3 separate regions of the Homo sapiens genome follow, and all the other regions are linked to region 3. The links are contacts of gene promoters, found by promoter capture Hi-C in blood cells and fetal thymus (Javierre and others, 2016). All regions are on one chromosome and are shown on one strand. The core of a region is centred on a gene start or on the middle of the fragment in contact, and the rest is flanking DNA. Distances in the headings are between cores, read along the strand shown.

Region 1 (4,538 bases), core at 360-2,859, 330 kb after region 3:
ATACAACATTGACAGTGAGAGTGATATTCCTCAATTAAAAAACGCTATAACAGGCCGGGTGCAGTGGCTCATGCCTGTAATCCCAGCACTTTGGGAGGCCAAGGTGGGTGGATCACTTGAGGTCAGGAGTTTGAGACCAATCTGGCCAACATAGTGAAACCGCGTCTCTAGTAAAAATACAAAAAATTAGCCAAGCATGATGGCATACACCTATAATCCCAGCTACTCAGGAGGCTGAGGCAGGAGAATCGCTTAAACCTGGGAGGTGGAGGTTGCAGTGAGCCGAGATCGTGCCACTGCACTCCAGCCTGGGCAAGAGAGCAAGACTTTGTCTCAAAAAAAAAAAAAAACAAAAAAAAAACAAAAAAAAAAACAAAAAAAACCAAAAACACACACACACAAAAAAAACGCTATAACAGACCAGTGGCACATGCCTGTGATCCCAGTGCTTTGGGAGGTAGAGGCAGGAGGATTGCTTGAGGTCAGGAGTTCAAGAACAGCCTGGGACACATAGTGAGACCTCATGTCGAAAAAAGAGAAAATTAGCCAAGTGTGGTGTGCCTCTATAGTCCCAGCTCTTCAGGAGGCAGAAGCAGGAGGATCGCTTGAGTCCCGGAGTTCGAGGATGTGGTGAGCTATGATGGCACCACTGCACTCCAGCCTGGGTGACAGAGTGAGACCCTGCCTCTTAGAAAACAGAAGCTATAACTCAAGCAACTTGGAAGTGAAATTCAAGTGCCTGACAGCTGTCTAGGTGCCCCTGAAACTGCCTCTAGTCACAACAAAGATACCTCCATCAAAGAGCATAGGAAGGGTTTGAATCAGATAGCTTCATGCAACACACGAACGGAAAAATAAATTTCTTAAAGAACATATTAGCTTCTTCCCATGAGATCAGGAAAACGGGACATCAATTGTCTGGGGTTCTTTGCTCCTGACTCCCTTTGGGGCTGGCACTATGTTGATCACGTTTTACAGATGGGGAAACTGAGGCTGTCGGTTTTTAAGTGGTCTGCCTAAGGTAGCAGTAAGGGTTGGTCTGACTCCAGCGCAGCCTCAACGAGGGCTTCAAATTAGGGCCATGAATTGGCAATTCCTGGCGGGTAATTGTGAAGAGTATATTTATTTTTAATTTTTATTTATTTATTTTTGAGACGGAGTGTCTCTCGGCCACACCCATCCTAGCTCATTGCTGTCTCGAACTCTCGAGCTCAGACGATCCTCCCGTCTAGGCTTCCCAAAGAGCTGGGATGACAGGCGTGAGCCCGGGCGCCCGGCCGGGAGTGTGTTAAGTATACGGCAAACACCTGGACTGCGGCCGGCTCTCCAGGAATGCCATGATATTGGGGAATTCCCTTTGCACCTGGCCAAGTGGCCTCGGGCAGGTAGCCTCCCCTCGGGTTGCCTCAGTTTCTTCTTTGGCACGCAGAGGCGGGGCTCCAGGCCTGGGCCGCTCCATGGCGGGGAGGGCGCGGGGACGCTGCACTCGGGGTGCGCTCCGAGAGGCGGACCCGGCTGGGCGCGCCTGGGGCGGGGCGAGGCGGGGCGAGGCTGGGCGGTGCGGGGGGCGGCCCCCGAGGATCACGTGGCGCGGCGCCGCGGCCGAAGCAGAAGTAGCGAGCGCCGGCGGCGGAGGGCGTGAGCGGCGCTGAGTGACCCGAGTCGGGACGCGGGCTGCGCGCGCGGGACCCCGGAGCCCAAACCCGGGGCAGGCGGGCAGCTGTGCCCGGGCGGCACGGCCAGGTGAGCTGCCCGGCCGGGAGCGAGGCAGGCAGGGCGCCCAGGGACCTGCGCCCCGCGGGGACCGGCTCCCAGGGCGCTGCGTCCGAGGGGGTCTGCGTCCTGGCTCAGCCGGAGCGGGCAGGGACGGGGCGCACCCTCGGGGACCCCGGCCCGCCGTGCCCGGGGTCCGTTTGGTGACGGCAGGGATCCTGGCCCAGCCGCTGGCCACTTCCTCACCCCGGGCCGGCGCCACCTCTCCGGTCCGTGCGGTGGGGCGGCCCCAGCTTTGAATGGGGACCGGGAGGAAGGTCAGGGGTCGTGTGGGGGCTGGCGTTCAAAACTCCTCTTTTCGAGCGGCTCTGCGTGGGGTGGCGCCGTCTCTCTTGACGGCCCTTGTGCCCAGAGCTCGCGGACGCTCGGAGCCACACTTCCCTGTCTCACTTCGGTGGTTGCGGGTGGCGGGTGGGAGCGATACCGCGGGAGGCGCAGTCCTTCCCGGAGACTTTTGGAGAGCTTGCAGGACACTCGCGATGCCCGCTCCGCAGCTGTCTGCGTAATTATGCGTGTGTCTGTGCGTGTTGTGTTTTGTTGTGTTTTGGAATCCCAAAGAGGGCATTACCCGCACAGCGCAAGAGTTCAGGTTAAAGACGTGCCCCGTTTGGACGGGGAGCTCCTGGATTCCAGCAGGACGGTGGGGCGGGGCTCTCTTGGTACCCTAATCTTGAACTAGGGTGAGAAACTATGGGGGGCGGGGTGGTAAAGGGGTGACATGGCGCGAGGGAAACAGGTGGCCTTGCCCGTCGGAACTTAATTTGAATTTCAGTTCCATCAGTGGGACCCTGGGCAAGTTGAAGAACCTTTTTGAGTCTGTTTCCCCCTCTGGATACTGGAGCCACCCAATTTTCCAGGGCTGTGTCGAGAATTGGGGCTTATTGCTGTTCCACGAGGTTCGCTGAGAATCGGGGCGCATCCATGGAGAGTCCTTGGGCAGTTCCTGACTCTCTGGTTCAAGGGCATTCTCTGGGGCATGGGCCCTCGTCCTTGACTACAGTTCTGCGGGGAAGTTTTACAGAATTTTGAAGTCTATGCCAGCCTCAAGCAGTTTCTCTTGCAAAGGTGTGTGTGCAGTCACGTGTATACCAGCTCAGGGACAATCGTCATTGTGAGCCTCACTGATGTTTAAGTCACCTAATGATGCAGCTGCCTTCCCCCACCAGCGACTGGAGTATGGGCAGTTCCTCTGGAAGTGGAAAAGCACAGACCCCATGAATAGCCCTTTTGCACTCATTGGGTAGAGTCAATGAAAAGCTGCTGGTGAGAAAACTTTTGAAAACATTTCTTGGTCAGGCACGGTGGCTCACACCTGTAATCCCAGCACTTTGGGAGGCCGAGCTGGGCTGATCACTTGAGGTCAAGCGTTCCAGACCAGCCTCACCAACATGGTGAAACCCCATCTCTACTAAAACTACAAAAATTACCTGGGCGTGGTGGTGGCCGCCTGTAATCCCAGCTACCCAGGAGGCTGAGGCAGGAGAATCACTTGAACCCAGGAGGTGGAGGTTGCAGTGAACCCAGATCATGCCACTGCACTCCAGCCTGGGTGACAAGAGAGACTCCATCTCAAGACAAACAAACAAACAAACAAACACACACAAACACTTCTTAATTTAGAAAACAGCAAGAACACAAAGAGAAAAATTTGCCCGTTACATCATCAGTTAATATAAATAAAGTCAAGTTGTATCCTCTACCCTCTCCCAGCCTCCGATAAATAGTAACCACTCTCCTGGATTTACCAGAAGATCACCTTTATAAAAAGGGAATTGTATTATACTCATACAGTTGCAACTATTGTCTGAAGCTATTTTTTTATTGACCTCACAAATCTTTCCAGATCAAATTGCTTATCTATCATCCTCATTCTTTCTGATGGCTACTGAGCGTTCTTCAGTGCATGTGCACCATTATTTATCCAGGAGGCCCCCCACATTGATGAGCAGTTGTTTTCTGTTTTTTTTTCTTTTTTTGTATTTCTATTGCAACTATTGCTTCCGTGATTTTCTGTCGTACATATTGCATCTTTGTGCATGTCTTTCTTTACATGTACAATTGCAGGATCGAAGCATATGCGTGTTTTGCTTTTTAGTAGCTGCTCACAGGTTGCCCTAAAGGAGCAGGGGTGGAATTTACACTCTCACTTGCAGTGGCTGACACCATTCCTTTGAAAATAGTGTATTCCCTCTAATGCTGCAGGGTGGGTGTAAGGTGCAGCAGTAATGTCCCTTGAACTGTTGGAGGGGCCCTTACCACTCAAGTATTTGCCTGTGCTCCATTTTAACACAATTGTCTTGTGGGATTTTTGGATGAAATCCTGTACTGGCTTACCATGCACAGAGCACTGAAGAGACAAAAACTTCCTTGATTTCTGGTTTTGGGTCCTCGCATCTCATTTCATGTCCTTTCCCCCCCCCCCCCCGCCCGCCCCCGAGACGGAGTCTTGCTCTGTCGCCCAGGCTGGAGTGCAGTGGCGCGATCTCGGCTCACTGCAAGCTCCGCCTCCCGGGTTCACGCCTTTCTCCTGCCTCAGCCTCACGAGTAGCTGGGATTACAGGCATGTGCCACCACACCCGGCTAATTGTTTTGTATTTTTTTTTAGTAGAGACGGGGTTTCATCGTGTTAGCCAGGATGGTCTTGATCTCCTGACCTCATGATCCGCCCACCTCGGCCTCCCAAAGTGCTGGAATTACAGTCATAAGCCACCGTGCCTGGCCCATTTTATGCCTTTCTAAATAAGCTTATGAGATACAAGAACATG
Region 2 (4,686 bases), core at 52-2,551, 350 kb after region 3:
AACAGGGGCCTGAGGGCAACGGGGTGAGTACAGGGATTGACCTACCCATTCAGCCACTGATACTATGGATGGGTTGTGGTTTGTCATAACGGAATTTAAGAGGCGTTGCTTTCTTCCACGTGTCATGTTATTTTCTAGCTGCGTTGGTTCTGGCCTGGGCCCTGAGGGTGTAAGAGGGAATACAGTGTAGTGGGTAAACGAGGGAGGCAGCATTTGTCCCTCAAAATAGCACCAAGTTCTGGGAATGCAGGTATATTTGGAGTTCCTGACAAGTCAGTGCAGGTCCAACGTCTTAGGGATTGTGCTGAGTTGGGGGAGGGATCTAGTTAAAGATGTCCCTTGGTGAATCATTTTTGAAAAAAAAAAAATTATCTCCACTACCTGTCCCCTAGTCTGTCTTAGATATAAATGCGGGTTTTTGTATATCAGGCTCGCAAAATTATGTGTCTTGATTTGTCTTGGGAGAGATTTAGGTGCTGTGCAGTTTGGGGTTGAAATCAGAAATCCTGGGGTTGACTTTTCCTGCTTTCATGCAAGGCCCGATCTTGGGGCCAGGCCTTCGGTAGTCCTGACCCACAGACTAAGAGTGCTGGGAGGCCAGGGACCCTGTCTGTTCTGTTCATAAGGGGGACTTCCCAGCACCTGGCCCATATCTGGCCTGTGGCTGGTGCTCCTCAGATACCTGGTTAACAGATGAATCAGGAAAAGGCCCTGGCTGCCCCTTTCAGCCTCGGACTTCCGGTTTCTTCCTAACCATGGCAGCAGTATCTGGGGTTGAGATAGGGCACCTCTGTGACAACTTCCTCTTTAACCATACACCGTGGTTCCACTCGTGGTCCTGGCACTTAGTGACTGTGTGACCTTAGGCAATCTACTTGGCCTCTTTGAGTCTCAGTTTTCTTTTTTCTTGTCTTTTTTTTTTTTGAGATGGAGTCTCACTCTGTCCCCAGGCTGAAGTGCAGCGGCACAATTTCAGTTCACTGCAACCTCTGCCTCCCGGGTTCAAGCAATTATTCTGCCTCAGCCTCCTGAGTAGCTGGGATTACAGGTACCCTCCACCTCACCTGGCTAATTTTTGTATTTTTAGTAGAGATGGGGTTCCACCATGTTGACCAGGCTGGCCTTGAACTTCTGACCTCAAGTGATCTGCCTGCATTGGCCTCCCAAAGTGTTGGGATTACAGGTGTGAGTCACCGCGCCTGGCCTGAGTCTCAGTTTTCTTATCTATAAGATGGGGTAATAGTGGAGCTTACCCCATCAGATCACTGGGAGGATTCAGTTTGTAAGTGATTGTCACAAGTCCAGTATGTACTTAACACAGGGTGCCTCCCAGCCATGCTGCCATATGTCTCCTCAGGCAGCAGGTGCCTGCATTTGTGTTTGCGTGGGGGACATGGGACAGGCTGAGACATAGCTCGCATGTGTAGGGGGTGTCCTCCTCCTGCTCTTCTGTAGCACACAGCTAGGGGTCCTCTGGGGTTAAGTGCTCTTGGACCTGAGCCTGGATATAAAAGCAGCCCAGTGCTTCTGGGAGGCTGGGGAGGCCTGGGCTTGGAGAAGGAGCGTCGACAGGGTGAAGGTGAAGTTCTGGAAATAGAAACAGTGATGATACCACATCACAGCCTGGGGGCCACTCCACTGTCACAGGGCTGTTGGGAAGAAGCTGTAAGGTGCTGCTTTCATCTATACAAGTTGTGCTGGAGGCCAGGGGTAGGCGTGAGTTTTGGGAGGTGAAGTATCTGTGTGTGTGAAGGATTCTGTTTTGAGAAAGAAGGAAATGGGAACTTACTAATTTGTAGAATGGAAACTAGCAAAATTAGGCAAGGCATGGTGAGAGCATGTGCAGCAGGAAGAGGAGACCCCGCAGAGCTCAGAAGAGGTGGAGGAGGGGCTGGCCTCCCCGGCCTCAGGACTTCAGGGATCCCACTGCGTCTTCTCTGCTCCTGCTTCGGCTGGATTTCACCGGCCAGGTGTCTCTCTCCCCAGCACTACCAGCCACTCCAGGATGTCCCTGGCCTGCCACCAGCCTCCACCAGTGGGAAAAGCCCCTACACCAGGTAGTAGCATGACTGAAGGAGGGCCCGTGTCCCTGGGGAGGCAAGAAGGGCCCAAGCCCAGCGTGGCGCAGAGTGAACGTTACGCCAGTTTCCTGTTTAGACAGCTCTGAGCTGCTTCCCTCTGGCCTTGCATATTTCTCCTAATTAAAACAACTGCTTTTTCCCCCTCATTATAGAAGTACTATGTGTTCATTGGTAGACACATTTTAACCTACTTCTGGGTGAGAAAAACAACCCCTTAGCCCCCGCCACCCCCCTACCCAGAGAGATGGTGTTAACACCTGGTGTACCACCTTCCAAATCTTTTTGTCCAACAAAACTTTATTCACAAGACATTTTCACAACATGCGACCCTTTTGTAATGTACTTTAGTAATCTGCCTTTTTCATTTTGTACTACTTTGTGACCATGTTAGTATTATTAACTAATTTATTTTAGTTAATGAATTAATTAATTTTTTGAGGCAGGGTCTTGCTCTGTCACCCAGGTTGGTGTGCAGTGGTGTGACCATAGGTCACTGTAGCCTTGAACTCCTGGCCTCAAGAGATCCTCCCATCTTGGCCTCCCAAAGTGCTGGGATTACAGGTGCAAGCCACTGAGCCTGGCCTGTTATTAATTTTTTTTTTTTTTTTTTGAGACAGAGTCTCGCTCTATTGCCCAGGTGCAATGGCACCATCTTGGCTCACTGCAAGCTCCGCCTCCCAGGTTCACACCATTCTCCTGCCTCAACCTCCCGAGTAGCTGGGACTACAGGCGCCCGCCACCACACTTGGCTAATTTTTTTGTATTTTTAGTGGAGATGGGGTTTCACCGTGTTAGCCAGGATGGTCTCGATCTCCTGACCTCGTGATCCTCCCACCTTGGCCTCCTAAAGTGCTGGGATTACAGGTGTGAACCACTGAGCCCAGCCTGTTATTAACTATTTTAAATGTCGATGTTGGTTTAAAAAATAATATGACAGACCCCACATACTCAAGAGCAAGGGATCCAGGGTCTGACTGCCTGGGTTCAGATCTTGGCTATGCCACTTATCCCATTTGTGGCCATGGACAAGTTACTTAACTTTTCATTGCACTCATCTGTAAAATAGGATAATAATGGTACCTATTACACTGGACTCTCATGAGGATTAGGGGAGTTAATTATGTATCATACTTTGGGTATCATAGTACCTGGCAAATATCCCAAGCACTCTATAAGAGCTACTATTGCTATTATTATTGTTTAAATTTACTTTTATTGTAAGTTCTGGGATACATGTGCAGAATGTGTGGGATACATAGGTAAGCGTTTGCCATCGTGGCTTGCTGCACCTATCAGCTCATCACCTAGATATTAAGCCCTGCATGTATTAGCTATTTATTCTGATGCTCTCCTCCATCCTTACCCTGCTCCCCAACAGGCCCTGGTGTGTGTTGTTCTCCTCCCTGTGTCCATGTGTTCTCATTGATCAGCTCCCACTTATGATTGAGAACATGCAGTGTTTGGTTTTCTGTTCCCGTGTTAGTTTGCTGAGGATGATGGCTTCCAGCTTCATCTATGTCCCTGCGAAGGACACGATCTCGTTCCGTTTTATGGCTGCATAGTATTCCATGGTGTATATGTACCATATTTTCTTTATCCAGTCTATTGTTGATGGGCATTTGGGTTGATTCCCTATCTTCGCTATTGTGATACTATTGCTATTATTATTATTATTATTATTATTGTTATTTCCAACCCTCTATGATAGGCAGAATAAACGCTCTCTGCTCCCAAGATGCCCTTGTCTTAATCCCTGGAGCCTGTGAATATATTACTCTATACGGCAAAATGCTCCTTGCAGATTGAACAGATCTTGAGATGGGGAGATGATCCTGGATTATCTGGGTGGATATGATGAAATCACAAAGGTCCTTGCAGGAGGGAGGCAGGAGGGTCAGAGTCAGAGTGAGACTGGAAGATGGCACCAGCTGGCTCTGAAGATGGAGGAAGGGGCCATGAATCAAGGAATGCAGGTGGCTTGTGCAAGCTGGAAAAGGCAAAGGAACTCATTCTCCCCTAGAGGGTCTGGAGAAAGCTTGTCCCAGTGATGCCTTGATTTTAGCCCCATGAGACTCATGACTTTTGCTCGTCTCCAGAGCTGCAAGATAATCAATTTGAGTAAAGCTATTATGCATGTGGGAATTCAGTAGCGTAGCGATTGAGAATAAATAACCCCCAACCCCGCAACCAACTTAGATGAGTTGTGATGTTTGCTTTGGATCTTTTTTGTTTTTAAGAAATAAAATATAGTTAAGTTCTCATAAGTACCCTTCCCTCCCTAGAGAAATCAGTATCATGATTTAATAATTATAATTCCCATTTCAAAAATTTTCATCCATGATTAACATATAATATGTTTTGCAGGTCTTTACATAAAAGACACTGCGTGGTGTGTATCCCTCAAGCAACTTGCATGTTTTTGCTTGACCTTGTGAAGATTTTCCATGTTGATGTAGCTTTATTTTAACATCCATGAGCAATTTCACTCAACAGTACAGCACGATAGATTGATCTGTCCTGTCAATGCTGGACATTTAGGTTGTTTCCAATCATGATACTCCCGATTCCAGCAAACACGTCTTCGCTATTGTTTGAAATTACTATA
Region 3 (4,341 bases), core at 604-3,103:
AAGAACTCTTAGAGTACCCTGGTCCCCCACACTGGGTTAGACATCCCCCTTTCTGTTCCTGGAGCACCAAGCACAATGTCTGTTACTGTTCTGGACTCTGACCTCCATGCTTTGTGGTTGAGGATGAGGACAGCACCTATGTCATAGGGTGTGAGAAGAGAATGATGTGTGCGTACAAAATTCTTAGCACATAGGAAGCCTCTGGCCACTGTGGTTATTATAGTCATTACCATTAATACCCTAGTGCCTGGCCTGTGACCAGCATACAGCAGGAGCTCAATGAAAATATTTGAACAAAGGATCTAATCCCACCCGCTTAATGGACTGGGGGGTTTCTTGGCCCCAACCACCCCCCAACACCCACATATCTAGGGCTTGCCCCTTCATGCTTGGTGGTTTTCTCAAGGCTGTTCAAGCTCAAAACTGGAAGGAAATGGCAGCAAATTGTGGGGAGCTAAGGAATTTCTAACTTTCTAATCTAATTGTGCCTCCCCAAGGAGGCATCTCCTGGGCAGGCTGGATGTGAGTCTTCTTTCCTTGGTGAGGGATGCAGCCTGGGACCTGCCTTTCATCCCCTGCCTGAAACCCTGGCCAGGCTCGGGGAGAGGGTCCTCTGGGGAGCACCTTCATGCTGCCTGTTCTTGGGAGAGGGGGGGTGAATAATTTCCACCAACGGCACAGATGCTGTGGATATTCCGCAGTGTTCACGACGCAGTTCAACACACGCTGCACACATTCATGTGTTCACTACAGAGGCGCCTTCACTTAAAAAGGCAAAAATCTAGGGTTTTAACGTTATTAGCTGCAGGAGCACGTGGAGATAAGAAAACCTGGCTGAGGAGCTGAGCATTTGCTAGGTGGCCTTAGGTGCCGGCTGCTTGTGATGGCAGAAAGGGAGCTTTTTGCATCCAGGCTGCAGTTCCTGATACCCTGGGTCACAAGAGAATCGAATATGGTTCTCTCGTGGGCTGGTGCTGGGCCTGTGAACTCAGATAAAATGACCAGGTGGGGTCCCAGGGAAGGTGAAGTAGGGGGAGCTGCTGGGGTGCGCACAAGAGGGGTGGCTGTGTAGGTTGGGGGGTGCTTTAAGTGGGTTCCTAGAAGAGGCTCTGTCTCCCTGGGCAGAAGAAAGAAGGGGGATGGGCGGACCGTCCCCTCTCTCCAGAAGGTTTGAGGACCCCCAAGGCCAAAGCCAGCAGACGTCAAAGGCCAGGAGTTCGAGGCCGGCTGGGTCCCGCAGTGGGAGACAGGGCAGGGTGGGCTCATCCTCCGGATCACCGCGGGGACACTTTCAGTCGGGAAGGCGTCCCCGTCCCACGGCCCCATCTGGCCAGCCCGCTGGACAGCCTGGACAGCGGAGGGGGCGTCAGGGGTCGAGGGTTCCAGTCCCCGTCCTTCCACCCAGCCCCCGGCCCTCGGGTATCCTTCTTTACCCGTCCGAGTCCGGCCCGGGGGCGGCGGGGGTGGGTGAGGCGCGGGCCCCCAGGCTCCGGCAGCCTGGCTGGGCTCCCGCCCGGGCACCCGCGGGGGCGCGGCTGGCGTGACGTCACGCGCCCCGCCCCCGCGCCCCGCCCCCTCCCCACATTCCAGGCGGGGCGGGCCGGGACCCCGCGGGGCTCGCCCGCCCCAGCCCCCTCCCCAGGGGCTGCCCCTCCCGTCGGGCCGCGCCTCCCCGTCGTGGGCCGCGACCCCGCCCGGACCGCGGACTCCGCCCGCGAGAGGCCGAAGCCGCCGCGGCCGCCGCCGTTGCCGCCATTGACGTCAGAGGGGCGGGCACATGACCCTGCGGGGACCAATCGCGCGGGCGCCCCGGGCTCCGGGAGCCCGGCGCGCGGCCCGCCCCGCCCGCGGCCACTCTCGCCCGGACGGCCGCGCGGACACACGCTCTGTACACACGCGCGCGGCGGCGCGGGGCCCCGAGACACGCCCGCCCCCACCCCGCCGCCCCCACCCCGGCGCCCGCCCTCCGCGCCTGGCCCCGGCCCGCCCTCGGCCTCCCCCGCCCCTCCCCGTCGCCCGCCGAGCCCGGTCAGCCGCCGCGAGCATGCACCCGACGAGCTAGGAGGAAGCCCGGAGCCCCGCAGGAAGCGCCGAGGCCGGCCCAGCCCGCCGCACGCGCCGCCCCCCGCGGGCAGCGCCCCCTCCCCTGCGGGCGCCCCCAGCCCCACACCCCCCCACCTTCCCGGGGGGTGGGGGGGTGCGGGCCGCCGGATCCGGGGGCCCCGCCGCCCCAGCAGCCCAGGACAGCCCCCTCTCCCCGCCCCCAGCCCCCTCCCCCGGCGCGGCCATGGATGTGACCAGCAGCTCGGGCGGCGGCGGCGACCCCCGGCAGATCGAGGAGACCAAGCCGCTGCTGGGGGGCGACGTGTCGGCCCCCGAAGGCACGAAGATGGGCGCCGTGCCCTGCCGCCGGGCTCTTCTGCTTTGCAACGGGATGAGGTACAAACTGCTGCAGGAGGGCGACATTCAGGTCTGTGTCATCCGGCACCCGCGGACCTTTCTCAGCAAGATCCTCACCTCGAAATTCCTGAGGCGCTGGGAGCCGCACCACCTAACGCTGGCCGACAACAGCCTGGCGTCCGCCACGGTGAGTGGCTCTGCGCGGCTGCACCCCCGCCTCTCCTCGGGGCCCGAGATGCGCCCTCCCTGGCTGCCCCCTGGCGCTGCACCTGGAGCCCAGGGCCTGGGGGGCGGTGGGGGGTGCCGGGGGAACGGGGAGAACCAGGGCGCCTCGCTCCTGGCCTGCTCGCGGGGCTCGATTTTGGAGTCTGAAGCCCAAACCAGCCGACCGGGCTCAGGAGAGACCCTTAAAATGCTGGAGACTCGGCCCACCGCCAGGCTGGGTGCCTGGGGACCTTCTGCCCCCAGCTCTTGTGTTTCTGGTGGCTGGGACTCGAGGATGGACCCGACGCTGGGCCCTGATGGTGGTGGGGGTTCTCTCTGGAAGCCCCTGGCCCATCTGGATCTGAGGGGTGGGGGAGGGGAAAACAAAATACCACCCCTCAGATTTAAAAAAAAAAACAAACAACACAACAAAACCTCCAAACCCCCAAACCCAAAGAATTTCCAGAAGCCAGTTTCTCTGTTTGGTTTACCCGTCCTTTATTCTCTTTCCTGCCAGGGCTGGCAGGCAGAACGGGGTGCTTCCCTTTCTGAAAATCTCATTCGCACATTGAGAGGTTGGAAGTGGAGGGGGAGGGGGCAGTGGTCCTGGAATATCTCAGGACCCAGCGGTGGTCGAGTTCTAGCCTAGAAGCTGCTTGGTGGAGCCCTGGTCCGGCATTGTCTGTAGAGTGTGTGTATACGTGTGTGTTTTGTTGCTGGAGGTTTAATTTTGTTATTGTTTTTAAATACATGGGTAGGACTGGGTCAGCTGGATGAGTCGGAGAGGAAAAACCATTGATCTGTTTCTGAAATCAGATCTGCAAATGGTGGCCTTCTTCGTACGTGGAGAAAGACAGCTGTGGTGGGGTCGAGGGGAGAGTGGGGGTGGCGGGTAGGAGCCTGAACAGGATGCTTTGTGTTTTGAAACAAGGACAGTTTCAAATACCGGCTGTGGCTTGGGCCTGAGGCTTGCCGTGGGGGTCCCATCCTCATTGGGGGTGTAGCTTGTCTTCCCCAGAATGCACACTCCTCCCTGGGGCCACCGTGATCCTGTTTACTAAGCGCAGTGGGAGGGGGCCGAATCCACTGCCTGCCCACACCTGTGCCAAGAAAACCCAGCCAGGAAATAGGGTGTCGCTTACATGGCATGTCACAAACGTGTAGCGTGTGTAGACATTTCCCTGGCATCCATGTTCCCTTGGCGGTGTGTCACAGGCCATGACACATGCCCCAAGGAATGGGGAGGGGGGAAAAGTTAGCTGAAGAATCCTACTCTTTGAACCAGTCCCCCACCCCCCACCCCAGAGCGTTGCAGCCCTCGAGGACTTTTATTCTTAATTTGGGGTCCGACATGCTTAGAGCACCTATTTTCTCTTTCCTGTGGGCACGTTGGTGCAATATCTGCAAAGACTCCTTTTTCAGGGAGGATTGCTGGTCGCGGGGAGGCGGCCCAGTCCCCGGTCAGGCTGGTGCATGTTCTCAAGCCCGTCCCGCGCCACAGGCCGCAGCATTTGGCTTTCCAATGGATGGAGGCGGGAGAGAGCCTCCGAAAATTTGCCAGTACGGAGTGTTTCTGATGTGGGGAGGAACTGGTGACCGCGGTGCCCCCTGCCTGGATTCTGGAGACCCCAGATCTGGCTTCAGAATTTTCACCTGGCTCAGGGGGACTTTATTGGGCTTTTTTTTTTTTTTTCCTCTTACACTCCACAAAATGAAGGGTTGTTGGTGGTGGGGTAG

The links. Contacts are between HindIII fragments. The CHiCAGO score rates a contact against its expected background, and 5 or more counts as called.
Region 1: the fragment with the promoter of PLCG2 here is called in contact with the fragment with the promoter of CMIP in region 3 in 3 of 17 cell types (neutrophils, naive B cells and total B cells); the score reaches 12.3 in neutrophils.
Region 2: a fragment that was not itself captured here is called in contact with the fragment with the promoter of CMIP in region 3 in 3 of 17 cell types (naive B cells, total B cells and neutrophils); the score reaches 9.2 in naive B cells.

What each region holds. Positions count from the first base shown.
Region 1 is chr16:81,777,682-81,782,219 of GRCh38, forward strand. It overlaps PLCG2 (phospholipase C gamma 2), which reads left to right and starts at 1,610. Exons shown (of 33, transcript NM_002661.5): 1 at 1,610-1,743. RefSeq lists silencers at 1,103-1,397, 1,426-1,695, 1,726-1,825, 1,836-1,915. The HindIII fragment of the contact is 8,410 bases long and covers 1-4,515 here.
Region 2 is chr16:81,796,926-81,801,611 of GRCh38, forward strand. The region is part of intron 2 of PLCG2 (phospholipase C gamma 2); the gene reads left to right. Among named protein-coding and RNA genes, the nearest start is that of PLCG2, 20 kb to the left of the region's middle. RefSeq lists enhancers at 720-769, 820-1,239, 1,510-2,119. The HindIII fragment of the contact is 5,626 bases long and covers 1-4,114 here.
Region 3 is chr16:81,442,955-81,447,295 of GRCh38, forward strand. It overlaps CMIP (c-Maf inducing protein), which reads left to right and starts at 1,854. Exons shown (of 21, transcript NM_198390.3): 1 at 1,854-2,587. The coding sequence starts at 2,288. RefSeq lists enhancers at 695-1,227, 3,392-4,157, 4,158-4,341 and silencers at 1,437-1,536, 1,647-1,996, 2,067-2,116, 2,547-2,846. The HindIII fragment of the contact is 9,361 bases long and covers 1-4,341 here.